7 separate regions of the Homo sapiens genome follow, and all the other regions are linked to region 2. The links are contacts of gene promoters, found by promoter capture Hi-C in human tissues and cell types (Jung and others, 2019). All regions are on one chromosome and are shown on one strand. Each heading gives the region's core, a stretch centred on a gene start or on the middle of the fragment in contact. The rest is flanking DNA. Distances are from core to core; before and after follow the strand shown.

The links. Contacts are between HindIII fragments. The study calls those that stand out against the background at their distance.
Region 1: the fragment with the promoter of KREMEN2 here is called in contact with the fragment with the promoter of CEMP1 in region 2 in 4 of the 25 tissues and cell types used here (adrenal gland, dorsolateral prefrontal cortex, lymphoblastoid cells and 1 more).
Region 3: a contact is called between a fragment that was not itself captured here and the fragment with the promoter of CEMP1 in region 2, in 1 of the 25 tissues and cell types used here (dorsolateral prefrontal cortex).
Region 4: a fragment that was not itself captured here is called in contact with the fragment with the promoter of CEMP1 in region 2 in 2 of the 25 tissues and cell types used here (dorsolateral prefrontal cortex and lymphoblastoid cells).
Region 5: a fragment that was not itself captured here is called in contact with the fragment with the promoter of CEMP1 in region 2 in 3 of the 25 tissues and cell types used here (dorsolateral prefrontal cortex, mesenchymal stem cells and spleen).
Region 6: a contact is called between the fragment with the promoter of DNASE1L2 here and the fragment with the promoter of CEMP1 in region 2, in 4 of the 25 tissues and cell types used here (IMR-90 fibroblasts, dorsolateral prefrontal cortex, lymphoblastoid cells and 1 more).
Region 7: a contact is called between the fragment with the promoter of CASKIN1 here and the fragment with the promoter of CEMP1 in region 2, in 3 of the 25 tissues and cell types used here (dorsolateral prefrontal cortex, lymphoblastoid cells and spleen).

What each region holds. Positions count from the first base shown.
Region 1 is chr16:2,962,938-2,965,637 of GRCh38, forward strand. KREMEN2 (kringle containing transmembrane protein 2) reads left to right here and starts at 1,338. Exons shown (of 9, transcript NM_172229.3): 1 at 1,338-1,677; 2 at 1,922-2,096. The coding sequence starts at 1,584. RefSeq lists enhancers at 1-570, 57-186, 2,155-2,700 and silencers at 267-346, 377-506, 1,057-1,136, 1,667-1,916, 1,987-2,356. The HindIII fragment of the contact is 31,540 bases long and covers 1-2,700 here.
Region 2 is chr16:2,530,099-2,532,798 of GRCh38, forward strand. CEMP1 (cementum protein 1) reads right to left here and starts at 1,310. Exons shown (of 1, transcript NM_001048212.3): 1 at 1-1,310. The coding sequence starts at 975. The coding sequence ends at 232. AMDHD2 (amidohydrolase domain containing 2) reads left to right here. Exons shown (of 11, transcript NM_001330449.2): 11 at 1-1,319. It overlaps MIR3178 (microRNA 3178), which reads right to left and starts at 1,907; the gene lies at 1,824-1,907. RefSeq lists enhancers at 1,713-1,762, 2,541-2,700, 2,543-2,592. The HindIII fragment of the contact is 25,225 bases long and covers 1-2,700 here.
Region 3 is chr16:2,868,931-2,871,655 of GRCh38, forward strand. No RefSeq gene overlaps it. Among named protein-coding and RNA genes, the nearest start is that of PRSS22, 12 kb to the left of the region's middle. The HindIII fragment of the contact is 8,538 bases long and covers 1-2,725 here.
Region 4 is chr16:2,038,684-2,041,384 of GRCh38, forward strand. NHERF2 (NHERF family PDZ scaffold protein 2) reads left to right here. Exons shown (of 7, transcript NM_001130012.3): 7 at 1-343. It overlaps NTHL1 (nth like DNA glycosylase 1), which reads right to left. Exons shown (of 6, transcript NM_002528.7): 5 at 1,450-1,555; 6 at 1,137-1,364. The coding sequence ends at 1,241. Among named protein-coding and RNA genes, the nearest start is that of NTHL1, 7.8 kb to the right of the region's middle. The HindIII fragment of the contact is 4,986 bases long and covers 1-2,701 here.
Region 5 is chr16:2,163,894-2,166,625 of GRCh38, forward strand. It overlaps TRAF7 (TNF receptor associated factor 7), which reads left to right. Exons shown (of 21, transcript NM_032271.3): 2 at 1-108; 3 at 1,986-2,043. The coding sequence starts at 28. Among named protein-coding and RNA genes, the nearest start is that of TRAF7, 9.5 kb to the left of the region's middle. RefSeq lists enhancers at 1-78, 488-1,261, 1,262-2,034. The HindIII fragment of the contact is 6,093 bases long and covers 1-2,732 here.
Region 6 is chr16:2,235,093-2,237,792 of GRCh38, forward strand. It overlaps DNASE1L2 (deoxyribonuclease 1 like 2), which reads left to right and starts at 1,352. Exons shown (of 7, transcript NM_001374.3): 1 at 1,352-1,468; 2 at 1,686-1,868; 3 at 1,946-2,034; 4 at 2,126-2,209; 5 at 2,284-2,557; 6 at 2,675-2,700. The coding sequence starts at 1,725. E4F1 (E4F transcription factor 1) reads left to right here. Exons shown (of 14, transcript NM_004424.5): 13 at 1-51; 14 at 124-650. The coding sequence ends at 480. The HindIII fragment of the contact is 25,906 bases long and covers 1-2,700 here.
Region 7 is chr16:2,195,343-2,198,042 of GRCh38, forward strand. It overlaps CASKIN1 (CASK interacting protein 1), which reads right to left and starts at 1,263. Exons shown (of 20, transcript NM_020764.4): 1 at 997-1,263. The coding sequence starts at 1,090. The HindIII fragment of the contact is 36,898 bases long and covers 1-2,700 here.

The sequences.
Region 1 (2,700 bases), core at 88-2,587, 430 kb after region 2:
GAGAGGGCTCCCGGAGGAGGCGACCAGGACCCTGGCCTAGAGTCTCAGCAAGTCCATCTCCTTCAAATGCCCCCACCTCGGCTCCACGCCCCTCCTCCAGAGCACACTCGCGTGAGGCGCCAGCTGGAAGATCCTCGCGGGTCCCAGCACCGCAGTGGGTGCCTGGGCCTGACAGAACCTCCCTGAACCCCATCTTTCTTCTCCATCGACACCGGGGCAGAGACGGTGTGGGGGCTGCAGGGCGGGGACTGGTCGGCCTGGGCTCGACAGCTTGGCGAGGGCCTGGTGCGGGCTGGGCAGGCTGGACTGAGGGGCAAAGAGGTCTGGGCGGGGCGGGGCCGCTCTGGGCGCCCGGCCCCCACCAGTTCCTTCCCCCGGCCCCCGCCTCCGCCCTCCCACGCACCTGCGCTGGCCTCCCCCCAAGCCCTGGGGGCAGCGGGCGGGTGGCGCTGGGAGATCAGAGGACTCGGAGGAGTCGGGCCCAGGGGGAGGGGGCGGGGAATTTCCCCCCACGCCTGCCTGGGCCTGCTCCCCTCCCCCTCCCCCGCCAGGTGGGGGGCACGGCTGGGGGAATTCCACTGCAGTGTGAAGGCTCGGGAGAGTCTGGGCTGGGGGTCCCAGGGAAGGGCGGGGCAGGGGGAGGAGGAGGGGACAGACTGGGACCTGGGGCGCAGCTGCCTTTCTCCCCAGACACCAGCTGCCCCTGCCTGTCCCGGACTGAGCGTCCACGACTCCCGCCTGTCTCGTGGGCGCGGGGGCAGGGAGTGGAGCTTCCTCCGTCAGGCCAGCGGCATCTGGACCAGGGGCGGGAGGGGCGTGCGGATCCGAAGAAAGTGTGCGCGTGAGCGCCTGGCAATGAATGGGAGAGAGTGCGAGCGCGTGCGTGCACTGGGAGGAGGGCGCTTGTAACTCGGACATTCCGGGTGTCCTGGGGCGCGTGCGACCACGTGAGGGGGTTCTGTATCTCCCATTTTAAGGGCCTTCCGTCCGCTTGCCCCGCCTGTCCCCCTCCACACCTTCCCACTTGAACCGGCACCGACCTGAGGGAGAGGGGGCCGGGAAGCGCTGGACGCCCGGGGTCGGGGGAACGGGCGTGGGAGGCGTCTGGACCTGCTGCCTCCGCTCCAGTGCTGGGCGGGGCTTCCCGGCCTCCCATGGGGGGAGGGAGAGACCCAGGGGGAGGGACCCACGGAGGGATGCGAGGCGGGCAGGAGTCAGCCCGTTGGAGACCTGGGCGAGGGAGACGCCGAGAGCTAGGCTCAGTGGGAGGGGGCGGGCGTAGAGGCTGAGGCACCGCCCAGAGCTCGCTGAGACAGAGACTGAGAACGCCCCCGGCCAGATTCCCCCCGGAGAGACCCGGGTAGGGACAGGGACAGAGAGACGCCTCTAGGGGCAGAGGCCCTGGGAGGCAAAGACCCCCAGGAGAGATTTACCCACCCCAGACGGAAAGCGCGGCTCAGAGTCGGACGAGGGGAGACTGTCAGAGGACAACGCCCCCTAGGTCTCCTGGGAGACCCCGAAGCGACCCCGGGGGCAGCCCGGGCCGTGTCCGGGCGAGGGTGACCTATCCTTGGTTGAGAGCGATGGGGACACAAGCCCTGCAGGGCTTCCTCTTTCTCCTCTTCCTCCCGCTGCTGCAGCCGCGTGGGGCCTCGGCTGGGAGCCTGCACAGTCCAGGTAAGTCCCCGCACGGCTGTCGGGCCGTGTTCACCACCCCTTCCTCGGCCTCCGCCCCCAGGGCCAGGCCCCCAAGGCTAGGGAGGGGGACAGAGCAGGTGGCCGGAGCAGCTGAGCAGCCCGAGGGCTCCTGCAGGGGCGGGTGCGGGGTCGCTGGCTGGGGACCCAGGCGGGAGGTGGCGTAGGGGCGCGAGGATGCCCGGCGTGGGTCCGGACCTCCCCAGGCCCTGCCTTTGCCGTGCAGGCCTGTCCGAATGCTTCCAGGTGAATGGGGCTGACTACCGCGGCCACCAGAACCGCACTGGCCCGCGCGGGGCGGGCCGCCCGTGCCTCTTCTGGGACCAGACGCAGCAACACAGCTACAGCAGCGCCAGCGACCCCCACGGCCGCTGGGGGCTGGGCGCGCACAACTTCTGCCGGTGAGGGGCGGGGCCTGCGCTGGGGGCGAGGCTGGGCTCACCATTGCAGGGATGGCCCGAAGCGGGGCCTCCGTGCGGGCGGGGTGGAGGTCTGCCGTGGACTGGCAGCCCAGCCTCCTGGAGAACCTGGGGGCGGGGCCAGAATGAGGGGCGGGGCGGGGCGGGGCGGGGCGCGCGGAACCCTGGCGCAAAAGGGATCCTCCTCAGGTGAACAATTTCTGCAGAGCTCCAGTTCAGGGCCAGGAGAGAAACGGACCTGGGCACTCAAAGGACCCGTATGGGCGGGGCCTGGTCAGAGCGGGGGCCGAATGGGCGGGGCCTTGTCAGAGTGGGGCTCTTGTCATACAACTTATTTTGGGGTTCAGAGCCACAGCTACGGTCTGAGGCAGGATGGACCCAGCGGGAGGAGAGCCGCAAAGCTCAGGAGCTCACTTCTGCTTTTAAGTGGGGTTGGAGGCCAGGCGCGGTGGCTCAGCCTGTAATCCCAGCACTTTGGGAGGCCAAGGCAGGCGGATCATCTGAGGTCAGGAGTTCGAGACCAGCCTGGCTACCATGGTGAAACCCCATTTCTACTAAAAATACAAAAAATTAGCGGGGCATGGTG
Region 2 (2,700 bases), core at 60-2,559:
CAGGGCACAGTGCCAGGGGCTCCGCTCTGACCTCCAGGAGGGAGACTGGGCCCGGGACCCCTGTTTTCTGCTCCCTGGACTGCCTAGCCCTGAGTGCCACGGATGACCAGCGTTCTGTTTTCTCTTCTCAATAACCCTATCTCTTCACACATCCCCAGGCCCAGTGCTTGCCGGCTGTGGTGACCCTGCCTGGTGCTGGAGGGCAGTATGGGAGGCACCAGTGTGCCCTGCTCACCCCATTAGTGTCATCCTGCCATCTTCTGTGTCCCCTTGGCCCTGGCACACACCCATGTGGCAAACACGGGCCGTGAGGCTCCCTGAACAGCTTCGAGGCGGGTGGGCTTCTGGAGCCCTCTTGGCTCTGAGGACAGCCACAGTGGGGTCAGACGTCAGGGATTGGTGCAGCCCCACGTCAGGGGTGATTGTCTTGACTTTCTCTCCATTTGAGTTCTGGGGTGGGTGGCTCCCTTCCCCCTTGCTTACAGGTGCTGTCCTGGGCACAGGAGGTACGCGCCTGGCTCTGCCACTGTTCTCTTCCCTCTGCTGCAAAGCCCAGTTAAGGAAATGTCTCCAGGTCCAAAGAGATAGGATGGTCTGGGCCCCACCTGTTGGAAGGGAACAGCCAGGGAAGAACCACCTGCCTGGGCAGGGCCTCGCCTGAGGGAGGGCCTGGGGCAGGGCACAAGGGGTTGATCTCAGCCCACAAGCCCCAGGGGCAGCCCAGGAAAGCAGGCGACGGATGTGGATCCTGACCTCCTGAGAGGTGTGAGGTGCAGGGATACCCACCTCTGCCTTGACGGCCGCGCACCCCTTAGGAAGTGGCTGTCCAGCGCCTGCCTGTGCTGGGCCTGGGAGAGGAGCTGTCTTGCCAGGGCTCCCAGGCAGGGAGAGGCAGGTGAGGTTCTCAGCCGATGTGTTAGAGGTTGAGCATCGCCTGTGCCCAGCTTGCTGGCTGTCAGTGCTTGATGTGCCCATCCTCAGCTAAAACCCAGAGCTGGCATGTTGGTCATCCCCACCTCAGACGGGACGCCCAGTCCAGAGCTGGTGAGCCCTGGGCCAGCCTTTGGGCCTGGCCTGCCCCATTCACCGGCCAGCGCCCCACCTCCCTGGCTGGAGGGTCGGGGAGGGGCTGGCAGAGATGGTTGGTCCACAGGGCTAGCCCTGGGTGGTGGGAGAGGGGCCCAGGGTCAGGGTGAGAGAGAGCTGGGCCAGGGAGCTGCTGCAGGATGATTTTGAGGTGTGGGGGAAGCACTCTTGGTTGGTTTTGGTTTGCTTTTTAAAAATTGTGGTAAAATACATAACAAAAGTAACTATCGTAACCTGAGCAGTTCTGTGACATGAAGTGAATTCACTGCTTTGTGTGACCTTGGCCACCATCATTCCCCACCACTCACTCCCGCTGGGCTCCCAGCCCTGCCCCACCATTCCGCTCCCTCTACAGCTATGGGTTTTACAAAGAAGGATGCAGGGCGCCCTGACTGCGGGGTGAGGGGCAGGCCTGCCCGCGGTGTGGGCATTCGCTGAAGGGGGACGCCCAGGTGTCTGCCTGAGTTACGGGTTGGGGGGTCGGGCATGTGGGGAGGGATGGAGTTGGAGGTGCATGCTCTCAGAGCTGGTAGGGGTGGCCCGTTTCGTCCCGTGTGTGAACTGGAGATGAGACCCGGCGCCTGCGATCCCGCAGACCGCGCCCGGCCGGGTGTCACTTGTGGGCGCACGCTGCCGGGATGCTGGGCCGAGCCCGCGGTTTAAGACCCAGATCTCAGCCAGGTCCCTTTCGCCGTCCGAGCCTCTGCACCTCGTGGGCTCCGAGCACATCCAGGCCAGAGACTGCGTTTGGGGCGTGGGCACGGGAGACCGTCATCAGCCAGGACGCTCTCGACCGATCCGGCCGCGCCCCGCCCAGCCTCGTAGCGCAGGCGCTGAGTCCAGGCTGACGCGCAACTCTGGGAGCGTTGCGGCACGCGGGGCCTTGCCTACTGTGGGAGGGGCTTCTGGGGGCGGGCTTCTGTCGGGCCAATTAGGATCGCCGCAGGGAAGGCACGCGCCGCGGCTGAGCAACAGGGGCGCGCGTCACCTTCTCTAGTTAACCCGCGCGGCCCCGGGCACAGAGCCCGAGGCTGCGCGGTCCCCGGCGGGCCCGCGGACCCCCCCCATCTCTGCGCCCCCCACATCTCTGCGGACCCCGCCTCGCCCCAGCCCTCCCATCCACAACCCTCACAACCTTGCATACCCCGCTACGCTCCCCACCGCGCCCTCACATTCCTGCAGACCCCGTCTCCCCACAACGCTCCCCGCCAACGCTGCGGAGCTCCGCGTCGCCCCAGCGCTCCCTGCCAAGCCCCCCACACCCCTGTAGACCCCGCCTCGCCCCAACCCTCCGAGCTGCTCCCCTTATACCCTTGCGGACCTAGTTTGTTTCGTCCCAGTCCTCCCCGTCGCGTCTCCCACATCCCTGCGGACCTCCCCGCGCCTCGCCTCTCCCTTCTGTTACGTATCACGCACAGGTGGATCCCACTACGACCCAGCTTGGCTCCTGTCCCGCACCTCCGCACCTGGCCTCTAGCCCCGCCCTCACTGTCTTGGGAAATGAAGCGGAGGGGTGGGCCGGACACTCTAGAAGCACCCTGGCTCGGAGCTTCCCTAGCTCGGAGTTGGTTTGGAGCCCAGGCTAGGGACCCAGGGTGGGCGCAGCAGGGGAGA
Region 3 (2,725 bases), core at 36-2,535, 340 kb after region 2:
CCCCATCTCCACTAAAAGTACAAAAATTAGCTGGGCGTGGTGGCGCGCACCTGTAATCCCAGCTACTTGGGAGGCTGAGGCAGGAGAATCGCTTGAACCTGGAGGTGGAGGTTGCAGTGATCTGAGATCATGCCACTGCACTCCAGCCTGGGAGACAGAACGACTTACTGTCCAAAAAATAATAAATAAACAAATGAAGAAAGAAAACACTCAAAATGTATCACTGGTTAATTGTTTTGCTGTTTTACTACTATCTGTGTTCTTGGAGTGATTTACATCCATCTTATCTGTATGGTGGGAATACTATATAATAGTGTGCTATTGCACGTTTCTTTCCAACTCTATGTTCAATGACATCATATTGGAGACTTGAAATCGGCTATGGTGGGAATATTTACACCATAGAAATTGGTAAACTGTAGAAATCAGGGCTTTTTTTTTTTCTTCCCAGAAAGTCAGTTGTTAAACATTCAGCAGCATACCACTGGAGTCAGACAATAGCCAACGTGGAGAGACAGAACAAGGTCCGTGTCTTTTTGGGGTCAGCATAGGAACATAATCATTTTCTGCTTTATTAAGATTCAGCGCAGAAACTGACACATGGTGCTCCATGAGTGTTTGAGGAAGAGCAGGAGAGAGGAAATTATGTGCTTCGCTGGGCTCTCAATTTACTTATCAGTTTGCCTAACCTTGACCCTCACCGGGACTCTTACCTCAACCTTTTCTCTCCAATTATCCTAACAGCCCTTGGTGCACCACGTGCAAGGCCTGAATGCTAACAATTGAAAGCGTTTCAAAAGCGAAAGTCAGCCAGGGAAGGATTTTGAGTTGGGGGTGATAAAATCAACTTTGCTTTAGGATGAGAATCAGCCATCTGTTTGTGGAACAGGTTGAGGAGAGGAACAACCAGCAGCAGGGAGACCAAGACTTTGTTCCACACTGACCGTGTGTTAGGCCTGTGTAGAGAGAGATGGGGCTGCAGGGGTGAGCTTAAGCCGCGATCCTTGGCTCCAGGAGCTCAGTCTTCTGAGGCAGGAGATAGTAAACAGACAATCACTGTGACTGTGATGTACACACTGGGGGAGAAGGCAGGTTGAAGTCCTGGAGAGCAACTCACTCTGCCTGAAGGAGGCAAGGAAGCAGTGAGCCAACCCAGAACTCGTAGGGCTTACAGTCAGAGGGACGCTGTCAAAAAAGGGAAGACAGGAGATGACAGCATGTGAAAACTGCCTAGGCAAAGCCTGGAAAGGAAAAACCGCAGGAGACTGATGGGAGATGAAGCTGGAGAGGGTTAGAGTTTCTCACTGCAGACTGAGCATTTTTGAGACGGGGTCTCGCTCTGTCACCCAGGCTGGAGTGCAGTGGTGCGATCTCAGCCTCCTGGGTTCAAGCACTTCTCTTACCTCAGCCTCCTGAGTAGTTGGGACTACAGGCACATGCTACCACGCCCAGCTAATTTTTTGTATTTTTAGTAGAGACAGGGTTTCACTGTGTTAGCCAGGATGGTCTCGATCTCCTGACCTCGTGATCCGCCCTCCTCGGCCTCCCAAAGTGCTGGGATTACAGGTGTCAGCCACTGCGCCTGGCAGGGGAGGTTCTTTACTGTTCTCCAGGCTTGAGCTCTCTTGTCTCCAGCGAACCAGCTCTTCAGCTGTGTCTCCTGCCCTGTCTCTGCAATCTAGCCAAGAATGAATCCTGATTCCGCAGCGTGGCCGAAGGTTGGTGGCTGTATATCTGGCCCACAATGTCCTTTATCCCCAAAGCTCCATTCAAGCATGTCTGTCTGTCTATCCTTTTATCTCTTTTCTCTCTCAGCATTTTGTAAAATTTGCTCAACTTTAGCATATAGCTGGATGCCTTGACTCACAGTGAATCCCTCAGGTTTTTTTTGAGGCAGGGTATCATTATATTATCCATGCTGAAGTGCAGTGGTTATTCACAGACGTGACCATAGTGCACCACACCCTTGAACTCCAGGGATCAAGCCATCCTCTTGCCTCAGCCTCCCGAGTAGCTGGGAACACAGGCTCATACCACTGAGTCTGGCTACCAATAATTTTTATTTTAACAATCTGTAGGTCAAACCTGAAAAACCGCCTCTAAATAACTTATAATTTTGATATATTTACGTTTCGATCCTTATGATGTTTGCATTTTGTTTCTGTATTCCAGGGTTGCAAGCATATTCTACTTTTCCCAATATGTTTATAGTTTGAGGTTTTAAAAACATTTTTATGAACAATATAAAGATATACTATTTTCCAAATATGTTAAGTAATTTTTTCAGCAATGTTTATTGAATCAATCATCTTTTCATTCCCCAGTGATTTAAAATGACATCAACGTAAGATATATCTGTATATATCTGTTAGGGTAAAATTCATTTGTGTGATCGAGGAAGCAGAACCCTCAAGGAGCGATGTAACATAATTACAGCAGGGCACAGTGGCTCACGCCTGTAATCACAGCACTTTGGGAGGCTGAGGTGGGTGGATCCCTTGAGATCAGGAGTTCAAGATCAGCCTGGCCAACATAGTGAAACCCCGTCGCTACTAAAAATACAGAAATTAGCTGGCATGGTGGCACATGCCTGTAATCCCAGCTACTCGGGAGACAGAGGCAGGAGAATCGCTTGAACCCAGGAGGTAGAGGTTGCAGTGATTGTGCCACTGCACTCCAGCCTGGGTGACAGAGCAAGACACTGTTTCAAAAAAAAAAAAAAGAA
Region 4 (2,701 bases), core at 1-2,500, 490 kb before region 2:
AGCTACCCTGTGCGCCTGTGCCCTGCTGGGGGCCTGGGCTCTCCGAGGGGCCTGAGGATGGAGGCCCCACGTCCCCGAGGAGGGCGGCCTCTGGACAGGCCCCTCATTCCGCGCGGCAGCTCCCAGGCCTGGGGAACGTAGGTGTGTGAGAGCGGCACCCGGGAAGGACGCCTGGCCTCTGGCTCAGCCCTGCTTGGCGGGCTCCCCCGTGGACACCCTGTTGACTTTGCACTTCCCTCCCGGGCCCCGCACCCCCGAACCGACCACCGATCGACCGGCACCGCTGTTGCCTCGTAAGCCATAGCGCATGCGCGCTCTCAGGATAAACAGGCCCTGCCTGGGACCCACACGCCTCTGTCTTTTCTGAGCCTCCTCCCCGTGGGGTGAGAGGGGTGGAGGGATGAGGCTGTTTCAGGGAGCCCCCTCCCCGAGTCTCAGCAGCTGGAAACGGTCTCGTTCCTGAGCCCGTGCCCTGCATCCATCTGCTCCCAGCCCTGCTCCATCTCCCCCGCTGACCCCCATGGGACCCCCTGCTGTGTGGCACATCCTGGGCCCATGCCCATCTCTCTTATTTGGCAGACTCAGCCTCCCACCTTCACCTTCCCTGTGAAGCCATCCGGCCCCACACAACACCCACACGGGCCACCCTTTGCCCAATTCACCCTGCGACCTCTAGCAGTCACAGGTCAAGCTTTGTACCCTGTGGCGCCCTGCCTGGGTCCCCAGTGTCCCTTTCAAGGCCGGGTAGCTCTGTAAACAGGGGTGGGACCCTGGCAGAGGCTGGGCTTTGAGGGCATGAAAGTTCAGGAGCTGGCGGTGTCCGGGCTGGGAAGCTGGGGGGCCGGCGGTGGATAGCATGAGGGGCCAGGGTCCCCAGCCAGCTGCCCGGGGGCTGCTTGCTTCCCCAGCGGACTTCCAACAGCTGGCTGCAGCTGGCTCTCCCCACTTCCTCCCTCCCAGGTTCATGCACACCCCCTCCCCCTCCCTGAGTACATAGCAAAGATTGTCACGTCCCCAGCCGGCCTCCCAGGCAGCCCTGCTCCAGACACGCGAGCACGGGTGTGTACGAACACATCCTTGTATGCGATTCCCAGGCTCTCTGCCCCCTCAGGGACAGACATCAGCCAGATCCCATCTGCAAACACACCAAAGCTTTATTCAACAGGCGTGGCTTCCTGAAGCGTAAAGCCACTTCACAGACGGTGGCCACAGCGGCACCTCGGCCAGAGCCATGCGGCCATCAGAGACCCTGGGCGGCCGGGCAGAGGGCTTGGTTGAGGCAGGCGTGGCAGCGAGGGTGCACAGGCAGACAGGTCTGCTGGCCGAAGCCCACCAAGAGTCCATTGATCTCGTGCCACAGCTCCCTGTGGGGGTGGGGGCTGGGTCAGTGCTGACAGAGGGCGGGCGGGGTGAGCTCTTCTCCCTAGGAAGCCCCCCACATACTCATACCTAGGCAGCCACTCCTCCAGGGCGGCGCGGGTCTCCTCTGGGGACTTGGTTGCCTTCTTGGTCCACCTCAGCCTGTTGGCGATTCTGTGCACATGCGTGTCCACTGCTGCTGGGAGGCCAAGCGGGGTGAACAGGGGCACACTCCACCAGCCTAGCCCGTGCCCCTCCCCGCCCAGAGGCGAGTCTGCCACCACCCCCGTGGCCCTCCAGTTAGACATTGGAACCGCAAAGCCCTGGCTGCAAGCCTACATGTGACCATCTTGGCTGCCCCTGAGGTGCTGGGGCAGGGGCTGAGCCCTCTGTTGGGGTGCAGGCCTCTCTCCCATCACCTGAGCCAGCCTGGGGGGCTCTGTTCTGGGCTGCCCACTCCCAACACTGGTGCTAGTTGGATGTGTGGGTGGTGGGGTCTCTGCTTTGGGCAGGGCCTGGGGGTGATGACTCGGCTCTGCTTGGAGCTCTATTCCCCACAATAACAGCGACAGCTCGCTTGGACAAACGCTTGCTGGGGGCCAGACCCTGCCAGAGAGATTGGCCAGCTCAGTGAGTCCTCATGAGGTCCTACGGATGCTGAAACCGAGGCCCGGCAGGATCCCGACTCCGAAGCACCTCTCAGCCCTCAGCCTCCCCAGGAACGTGGCCCTGTCCCCGGAAGGGTCCATCCAGGCTTCCCTCTGTCTGTCTCCTGTGGCCTGAGGCTCCTCTCGGCATAAGCACTGGCTCTGGGCACCAGGCTGGGTGGCAACAGCTCTGCCTGGCAGGCCGGCATGAGGTCACTGCCTGCAGACCTAGCACCTGCCACTGCAGCGGTCAGGGACACAGCGGGAGCATGCCCTGGCCGGCCGCAGCTGCTGTCCACCTGGGTTCTGGCTCCTGCTCCCCTCAGCTGGCCACCCCAGGCGTCTGCTCACTGGGGCTCCCTTCTCCCACCCGGTGGCCCCGGCCAGCTGCAGCCCCAGCCCTGCCTCCTCCTCCCGTGTTTCCCAAAGAGAAAGCCGAGGCCTGCACCAGCTCCTTCGCTGCTGCCTAGAAAAAGGTGTCCGAGGGTGTGGGGAGACCACAAGGCCTGAGGGGTCACACCCCTGGGGCTCTGAGCCTCAGTTTCCTCCTCTGTAACACGGAAGTGGCCATGCTTCAAGGCTGAGTCAGGCCACGTCACGTTGTGTGAGCCTCCTGCCCACCTGGACAGTGAATGACGAGGACTGCCTCACCCACTTTGTGGCCAGAGCTTAGAGAAGCCAAGGGCCTGGCCCAG
Region 5 (2,732 bases), core at 24-2,523, 370 kb before region 2:
CAAGGACCGTAGATGCCTCTCTAGAGCATGAGCTCAGGCAAGAGTGCCCGCTACAACCGCTTCTCCGGGGGGCCCAGCAATCTTCCCACCCCAGACGTCACCACAGGGGTAAGGGTGTGCCCCTCTGCAAGCCCAACATCCCCAGGACCCCCAGCATGCCCCAGGGATCTGGTGTTGCCTGCAGAGCTCCCAGCGCAGTCCCGTCCCGAGCTGGGGTCTCAGGGGAGCTCGGTGGGGGGGGGTGTGGTGTGTGTGTGTGTGTGTGTGCGCGCGCGCGCGCGCGCGCGCACGCGTGCGTGTGTGGTTGGGGCGTGTTAGTGCTGTGTGGCGCGGCCTGGTTGCATGGTTAAGCGTGTGAGTGCTGCGTGGCGCGGCCTGGTCGCATGGTTAAGCGTGTGAGTGCTGCGTGACCTGGCCTGGTCGCATGGTAAAGCGTGTTAGTGCTGCGTGGCGCGGCCTGGTTGCATGGTTAAGCGTGTTAGTGCTGCGTGGTGCGGCCTGGTCGCATGGTTAAGCGTGTGAGTGCTGCGTGGCCTGGCCTGGTCGCATGGTTAAGCGTGTTAGTGCTGCGTGGCCTGGCCTGGTCGCATGGTTAAGCGTGTGAGTGCTACGTGGCCTGGCCTGGTCGCATGGTTAAGCGTGTGAGTGCTGCGTGGCCTGGCCTGGTCGCATGGTTAAGCATGTTAGTGCTACGTGGCGCGGCCTGGTCGCATGGTTAAGCGTGTTAGTGCTGCGTGGCGCGGCCTGGTCGCATGGTTAAGCGTGTGAGTGCTGTGTGGCGCGGCCTGGTTGCATGGTTAAGCGTGTGAGTGCTGCGTGGCGCGGCCTGGTCGCATGGTTAAGCGTGTGAGTGCTGCGTGGCCTGGCCTGGTCGCATGGTTAAGCGTGTTAGTGCTGCGTGGCCTGGCCTGGTCGCATGGTTAAGCGTGTGAGTGCTGTGTGGCGCAGCCTGGTCGCATGGTTAAGCGTGTGAGTGCTGCGTGGCCTGGCCTGGTCGCATGGTTAAGCGTGTTAGTGCTGCGTGGCCTGGCCTGGTCGCATGGTTAAGCGTGTGAGTGCTGTGTGGCGCAGCCTGGTCGCATGGTTAAGCGTGTGAGTGCTGCGTGGCCTGGCCTGGTCGCATGGTTAAGCGTGTGAGTGCTGCATGGCCTGGCCTGGTCGCATGCTGAAGCGTGTGAGTGCTGCATGGCCTGGCCTGGTCGCATGGTTAAGCGTGTGAGTGCTGCGTGGCCTGGCCTGGTCGCATGCTGAAGCGTGTGAGTGCTGCGTGGCCTGGCCTGGTCGCATGGTTAAGCGTGTGAGTGCTGCATGGCCTGGCCTGGTCGCATGGTTAAGCGTGTTAGTGCTACGTGGCGCGGCCTGGTCGCATGGTTAAGCGTGTTAGTGCTGCGTGGCGCGGCCTGGTCGCATGGTTAAGTGTGTGAGTGCTGTGTGGCGCGGCCTGGTCGCATGGTTAAGCGTGTGAGTGCTGCGTGGCGCGGCCTGGTCGCATGGTTAAGCGTGTGAGTGCTGCGTGGCCTGGCCTGGTCGCATGGTTAAGCGTGTTAGTGCTGCGTGGCCTGGCCTGGTCGCATGGTTAAGCGTGTGAGTGCTGTGTGGCGCAGCCTGGTCGCATGGTTAAACGTGTGAGTGCTGCGTGGCCTGGCCTGGTCGCATGGTTTAGCGTGTTAGTGCTGCGTGGCCTGGCCTGGTCGCATGGTTAAGCGTGTGAGTGCTGTGTGGCGCAGCCTGGTCGCATGGTTAAGCGTGTGAGTGCTGCGTGGCCTGGCCTGGTCGCATGGTTAAGCGTGTTAGCGCTGCGTGGCGCGGCCTGGTCGCATGATTAAGCGTGTGAGTGCTGCGTGGCGTGGCCTGGTCGCATGGTTAAGTGTGTGAGTGCTGCGTGGCCTGGCCTGGTCGCGTGTTAGGCATGTGAGTGGGCTCCACATGTGCACGTCCTCCTTGTGTCCCGGAATGAGGCCAGGTCTCCTCCGTCCTCCCTCTAGACCAGAATGGAAACGACCTTCGGACCCGCCTTTTCAGCCGTCACCACCATCACAAAAGGTGAGCCCTTAAGCCAAGGCCAGCCCAGGCTGGGAATAACCGGGGCACCCCCATGCCCACCCTGCTAAGGACTGAGGGACACTTCCCGGTGAGCTGGTGTTGGGTGCCAGTGCTGGGCGCGGGCAGCCTCACACCGCAGCCTGTGTCCTCACAGCCTCTCAGCCCTGGGCCTCCCCACTGGACAGGAGTCGGGTGTCCTGCTCCTTGTGCCTCGGTGACTGTGCTGTGCCCTCTCTCCCTGCCCTCTTCATCCCCTCTAGGGAGGCTTGCCCTGACATCTCCAGCACCACCACACAGCCCTGTCCCTTGTCACAGTGATCCCCAGCTTGTCCCCAGTCTCAGGCTCCTGGCCAGCCTCCGAAAGGTCCCGTGTGCCCGGAGGTCTTCTCTTGAGTTTGGCCCTAGGGCTTCAGTAACAGTGCTGCAGTTGTGACATGTTAATAGGAAGGGAGGGAGAGTGGAAGAGATCCATAAGTCTGGTTTGTTTTTTTGAGACGGGTGTCACTCTGTCACCCAAGCTGGAATGCAGTGGCGCAATCTTGGCTCACTGCAACCTGTGCCTCCTGGGATCAGTCCTGCCACCTCAGCCTCCCAGGTAGCTGGGACCACAGGCACCACCACACCTGGCTAATTTTTTTTATGTTTGGTAGAGATGAGGTCTCACCATGTTGCCCAGGATGGTCTCAAAT
Region 6 (2,700 bases), core at 102-2,601, 290 kb before region 2:
GATGCGGAGACCAGTGAGGCCACGGAGATCATCGAGGGCACCCAGACAGAGGTGAGGGGTAGGGCAGGCGGGGGCGGGGAGGCTCCCTGGCACAGCCGCTCTTGCTGAGCCGTGGCCCTGCAGGTGGACAGCCACATCATGAAGGTGGTGCAGCAGATCGTGCACCAGGCTAGCGCCGGCCACCAGATCATCGTGCAGAACGTCACCATGGACGAGGAGACGGCGCTGGGCCCAGAGGCGGCTGCCGCCGACACCATCACCATCGCCACCCCCGAGAGCCTGACAGAGCAGGTGGCCATGACGCTGGCCTCGGCCATCAGCGAGGGCACTGTGCTTGCCGCCCGGGCAGGGACAAGTGGCACTGAACAGGCCACTGTGACCATGGTGTCATCAGAGGACATCGAGATCCTGGAGCATGCAGGCGAGCTGGTCATCGCCTCGCCGGAGGGCCAGCTGGAGGTGCAGACGGTCATCGTCTAGCATGAGGTCTGCGGGGTCCTGGCCGGGCAGGGACAGGGCAGAGGACTCTGAGCGCCCCACCCATGCCTGCCTGGCCTGGTAGAGAAGATGGCACAGGATGGAGGCGCCCCAAGACGGACAGTGTACATAAGAGTTTCTTGTTGCTTTACAATAAAACATGAGAACCTGCAGCTTGTGATGTTGTGGCAGTGGCAGCCTCCGCGGCTGGTGCCACCACCTTTGCCCAGGCCCCCGCAGCAGCACCTGCCTCCCAGGCCACTCCTAGACTCACGTGCCTGGCCGCCCCACCCAGGGGCTTCTGCCAGCCCTGGCGGCGCCTTGGTGCTGTGTGGGTGTCATTGGCATGTTGACCAACAGCCTCCTGCCCTGCCCAGCTGGAGCTGTGCCCCCAGCTGCGCTGCCTGAGGCCTGTGGGTGGGTGGGAGGACCAGGGACGGGGACAGGGAGATCTGGGAGCCTCGGCCTCCACCGCAGGGTGAGCAGGTGGAGCAGCAGCAGGAGATGCTGGGTAGGGAGTGTGGCTGGTCCTACCTGCGCTGCCTTGCTTTCCCTGAAGGGATTCTGCTCAGGGAGGCAGAGTCTAGGCGACCTAATTTCTAGGGGCGAGGACAAGAACACAGCCGCACCGGGATGTGGCTGACCGTCTACCTCCCTCCTAGGGGGCTGGCAGGGGCTTCTGGGACGGTTTTGGGACAGGTCTGGGGCACCAGAACCGGCTCAGGCAGGTCTCCCACCCCTTACCCTGGGGGTCTCCATGGGAATGAAAGCCAGGAGTTCATCAGGCACCCAGCTGAGTCGAGGGGGCGGGACCCAGTGCAGCCCGGCCCCTCCCTGGCCCAGGACCTCAAATACCGGCCCCTGCCTTGGTGCCAGAGCTACTGCCAGAGGGAGTCAGTGCAGTCCTGTGTCGGACACGCCCGCAGCCTGGACCCGGGATCCCCATCCCCCTAGGATCTCTGAGCCTCGGGCCTCTGCACCCACATCCAAGGTGAGTCTCTCGGCTGCCCTGAGCTGGGGCTGGATGGGCCGGACCCTCCATTCCGGCTGCAGCTTCCCGCGCAGTGAGAAGGCAGCGGTCCCTGAGAGCCCAGCAGTGCCCTGGGAGCCTGCAGAACGCAGGGGCGGATTCCGCGTCGCACTGGCCGTCAAGGGGCGGCCGCGGAGGGAAGGGGTGGGTCGGTGGGTCTGACAGCGGGTCTGCGTAGGCGGCAGCGTCTGTCCCTCCCAGCCTCTCGCTCCGCGCCATGGGCGGGCCCCGGGCTCTGCTGGCCGCACTCTGGGCGCTGGAAGCCGCCGGGACCGCCGCGCTTCGCATCGGAGCCTTCAACATTCAGAGCTTCGGTGACAGCAAAGTGTCGGACCCCGCTTGCGGCAGCATCATCGCGAAGGTGGGGCCCGGGCCGGGGCGGGGCGGCGTTTAGGGGTGCTGACCGCGCTGACCCCCGCACCCGCCGCTCCTCCCCAGATCCTGGCTGGCTATGACCTCGCGCTGGTGCAGGAGGTGCGAGACCCAGACCTCAGCGCCGTGTCCGCGCTCATGGAGCAGATCAACAGGTGTGGTGGGCAGGGCCCCTCGTCGCGACCCCCCGCCGGGATCTCGCCCCGGCGCGGCGCCCCGACCCTGAGCGGGCCCCTGTCTCCGCAGCGTGTCCGAGCACGAGTACAGCTTTGTGAGCAGCCAGCCCCTGGGCCGGGACCAGTACAAGGAGATGTACCTGTTCGTGTACAGGTGAGGGGCGGGCCGCAGGGAGGGGCGCGCGGGGCCGCAGGTCGGGGGCTCAGCGGGTCCTCCCCATCTCCTAGGAAAGACGCGGTGTCGGTCGTGGACACCTACCTGTACCCAGACCCCGAGGACGTCTTCAGCCGCGAGCCCTTCGTGGTCAAGTTCTCGGCCCCCGGCACCGGTGAGCGGGCCCCGCCCCTCCCCTCCCGCCGAGCTCTGACGCCCCCACCCCTTCCCGCAGCAGCACAGAACCTGGTGCTGATCCCGCTGCACGCGGCGCCGCATCAAGCCGTGGCGGAGATCGACGCGCTCTACGACGTGTACCTGGACGTGATCGACAAGTGGGGCACCGACGTAAGCCCACCCCTCGGTCCCGGGGTCCCTGCAGGCGCGCCCCGGGGGTCTGGTTCATGAGGGCGGGACCTCGACGGCTCCTGCGGCGGCTCAGACACGGCTCCGCGGCGCCCGCAGGACATGCTGTTCCTGGGCGACTTCAA
Region 7 (2,700 bases), core at 13-2,512, 330 kb before region 2:
CTCTCTGGCTTACAGTCTGTGGGGGTGGAGGGAGGAGGGAGGACGCCCAGACCCCACGTGCCGACCTGCAGAGCCCTGTCCGTGCCCGCACAGGTGCCCTGACACACTGACACGGCTATACGTGCGCAGCCGCACACGCGGCTGGTCCACACGCCCATCCATCCATCTCCGGCGGCCCCCAGGGAGGCTACGCGCTGAGCCAGGATGAGTGCTGGGACCAGGGCTCCAAGCTCCCAGCCCTTTCCTGGGGCCGGCCATAGGGCAAGCTGGGGATGGCCAGTGGTGGTCCCCCACTCCCTCATGGCCTCCTTTCCCAGCAGGGAAGCTGGAGACCCGGCTCTGCTGGAGCCTGCCTGAGCAGGGCCCCAAGCCCTTGCGCCCAGGCCGGCCCTGCCTGGAGTCCAGCCTGCCCTGGGCTGGGCGACCTTGGGCCTCTGCTCTCCCATCAGTAAATGGCACCCCACCGGCCATGCCAGGGCAGCCACACCCCCAGCGTGGTCCTGCCCCCACCTTCCCTGCAAAGCGTGTTATTAAACGTGGGGCGGGAGGGGGTCTGCTAGGGACTGTCACCTCCCGGGTCGCCCCTCGCCGCAGGGGCCCCCTCCCTGTCTTCCCGGTGCGTGTGGTGGGTGGGGGGGGCATCCGCCTCGCCCTTTGAAGGCCCCAGCAGAGACCTCCAGCTGTCAGCCCGCAGCCTGGGAAGGGAGGGGGACAGAGGTAGAGAGAGAGGGATGCGAACGCCCGCGGCCCGGGAGGCGGGTGCCGCCAGGTGCCCGCTGCGGGGCTCACGGTGGCGGCCGGCTCTCGGGGCCGCCCCATCTCCAGTGCTGGGGGCAGCGGGTGGAGGGCACGGACCAAGGGTCTGGGCGCTGCTGGCCCCGCCCCGCCCCCGGGGACCCGACAACGTCCCCTCCCCGCCCGGCGCCGGGTGGGGGGCTCCGCGCCGGGGAGGGGCCCCCGGGGCTCCCACCCGCGCCCCGCGCCCCCGGCACTCACTGGCCTTCCCGGGCCGCGGCCTCTGCAGCAGCCTCTGCGCGGTCCCTACGTCCTCCGCCTTCACCGCCTGCACCAGCTCCTGCTCCTTCCCCATGGCGCGGCCGGGGCCGCAGCGACGCGGCTGCGCTCGTGAGCTCGGCGCGGCTCAGAGGCGGCGGCGGCCCCGCGGCACCGGCCGCCTCCCCCGCCGCCTCCCCCGCCGCCTCCTCGCCGCCCGCCGCCCCTTCGCCCTCCTCGGGCTCCGGCTTGGGCTCGGGCTCCCGGCGCGGAGGGGGCGGGGAGCGCGTCACGGGCGGGGGGCGGCCCGGGGGCGGGGGCGCGCGGCGGGCGCGGGGCGGGGGCGCGGCACCTGGCGCCGCCTCCCGGACGCCGGGGTCCGCTCCCGGGCCGCCGACCTCCGTCAGCCCGCGCCGGCCGCGCGCCCGGGCCCGTGGCTCCGCCCTCCCCGCGCCCGCCCCGGGACGCCCCCTCCCCACGTGCGCGCAGCGCGCTCAGGCCAGGCCTCTGCGGACGCGGGCGGCCTGGGGCTGCTAGCCGGGCTGGGGACGCGGCCGCCGGGGGTGCACTGGGAGCCCCGACGCGGCGGCGGCGCGGGGCTGAGCCCAGAGAGGCTTCCAGAGGCTGCGGGACCCGCGGGGGACGGTTCCGAGGCAGCGGGCGGGCGGGGACCGGGCGCCGAGAGACCCGGGCGCCAGTGCCCCTGGAGCCGGCCCGCCAGGCTGTCAGGCGTTCCTGGCCCAGGGTTCCCGTGGGAGGTGTCGAGGGATTGTGAAGAGGAATCTCCCAATAATGAATTCGGTGTCAGGGAACCCGCACCCCCAACCCCCAAGCATCCTCCTGCTCCTCTCCGCAAATAATGCGGGCGCCACAGCTTCCCCCAGCCTCAGTCCGAAGCCTGACCCCAAGGTAGCCCCCACCACCCCCACTGAGGGAGCTCAACTCCCCACTCCCCGCACCGACTGGGGGTCGCCTCCATCTCCATCCACAGGGGCTGGAACCTCCCGCCGGCACCAACCGACCCCCGGCCCACGTCTGCCCACTCTCCAGCCTGCAGCCCAGGCAGGCGAGTCCTGCTTCCTGGGTGCTGGAGGCCCCGACTTGTGACCCTCTGAGCTCCTGGCTGAAGGCTTGGGCCACCCTGCGCCTCAGGCCCTCTCCCGTCAGGCCTGCAGCATTCTAGAGGCAGATCAGTGGGGGTCTGAGTCCCGACTCAGGCTCCGTTTCCCTCATCACCCAAGCGGGCAAGGCCGTTTGGAGAATTTGGGGAGGGTCGCACCCATTCTATGAGGCATGGCCTGGCACCCCACTCTGTGTGGCCCCAGACCATTGAGCAGGTCCAGGGGGACAGAGGAGGTCAGACAGCAGGGACAGGGAAGGTGACAGGCACCGGGGTCCCGGCATCCTGTGGGCAGCTGGCCGTTCCCGTTCCCTCCGTGGGGTCTCCTGTTAGGTTCAGGTAGCAGCCCTTGGTCTTCCAGCACTCCTGGGAGGGGTCCCCAAATGCTAGGGCCTTTCCTCTTGCCCTTTCCAATGACCAGTTGAGTACCCGCTGGGTCAGGCACTGTGCTGGTCACCTCCTAGATGAGGTTGGACTCACTGTCCCCATTTTACAGATGAAGAAACTGAGGCTCAGAGAAGCCAAGGGGCTCACCTGGGGTCCCAGAGTCTTGAGGTTGTAAGTCTGGGCTTTGCACCCGCACCTCT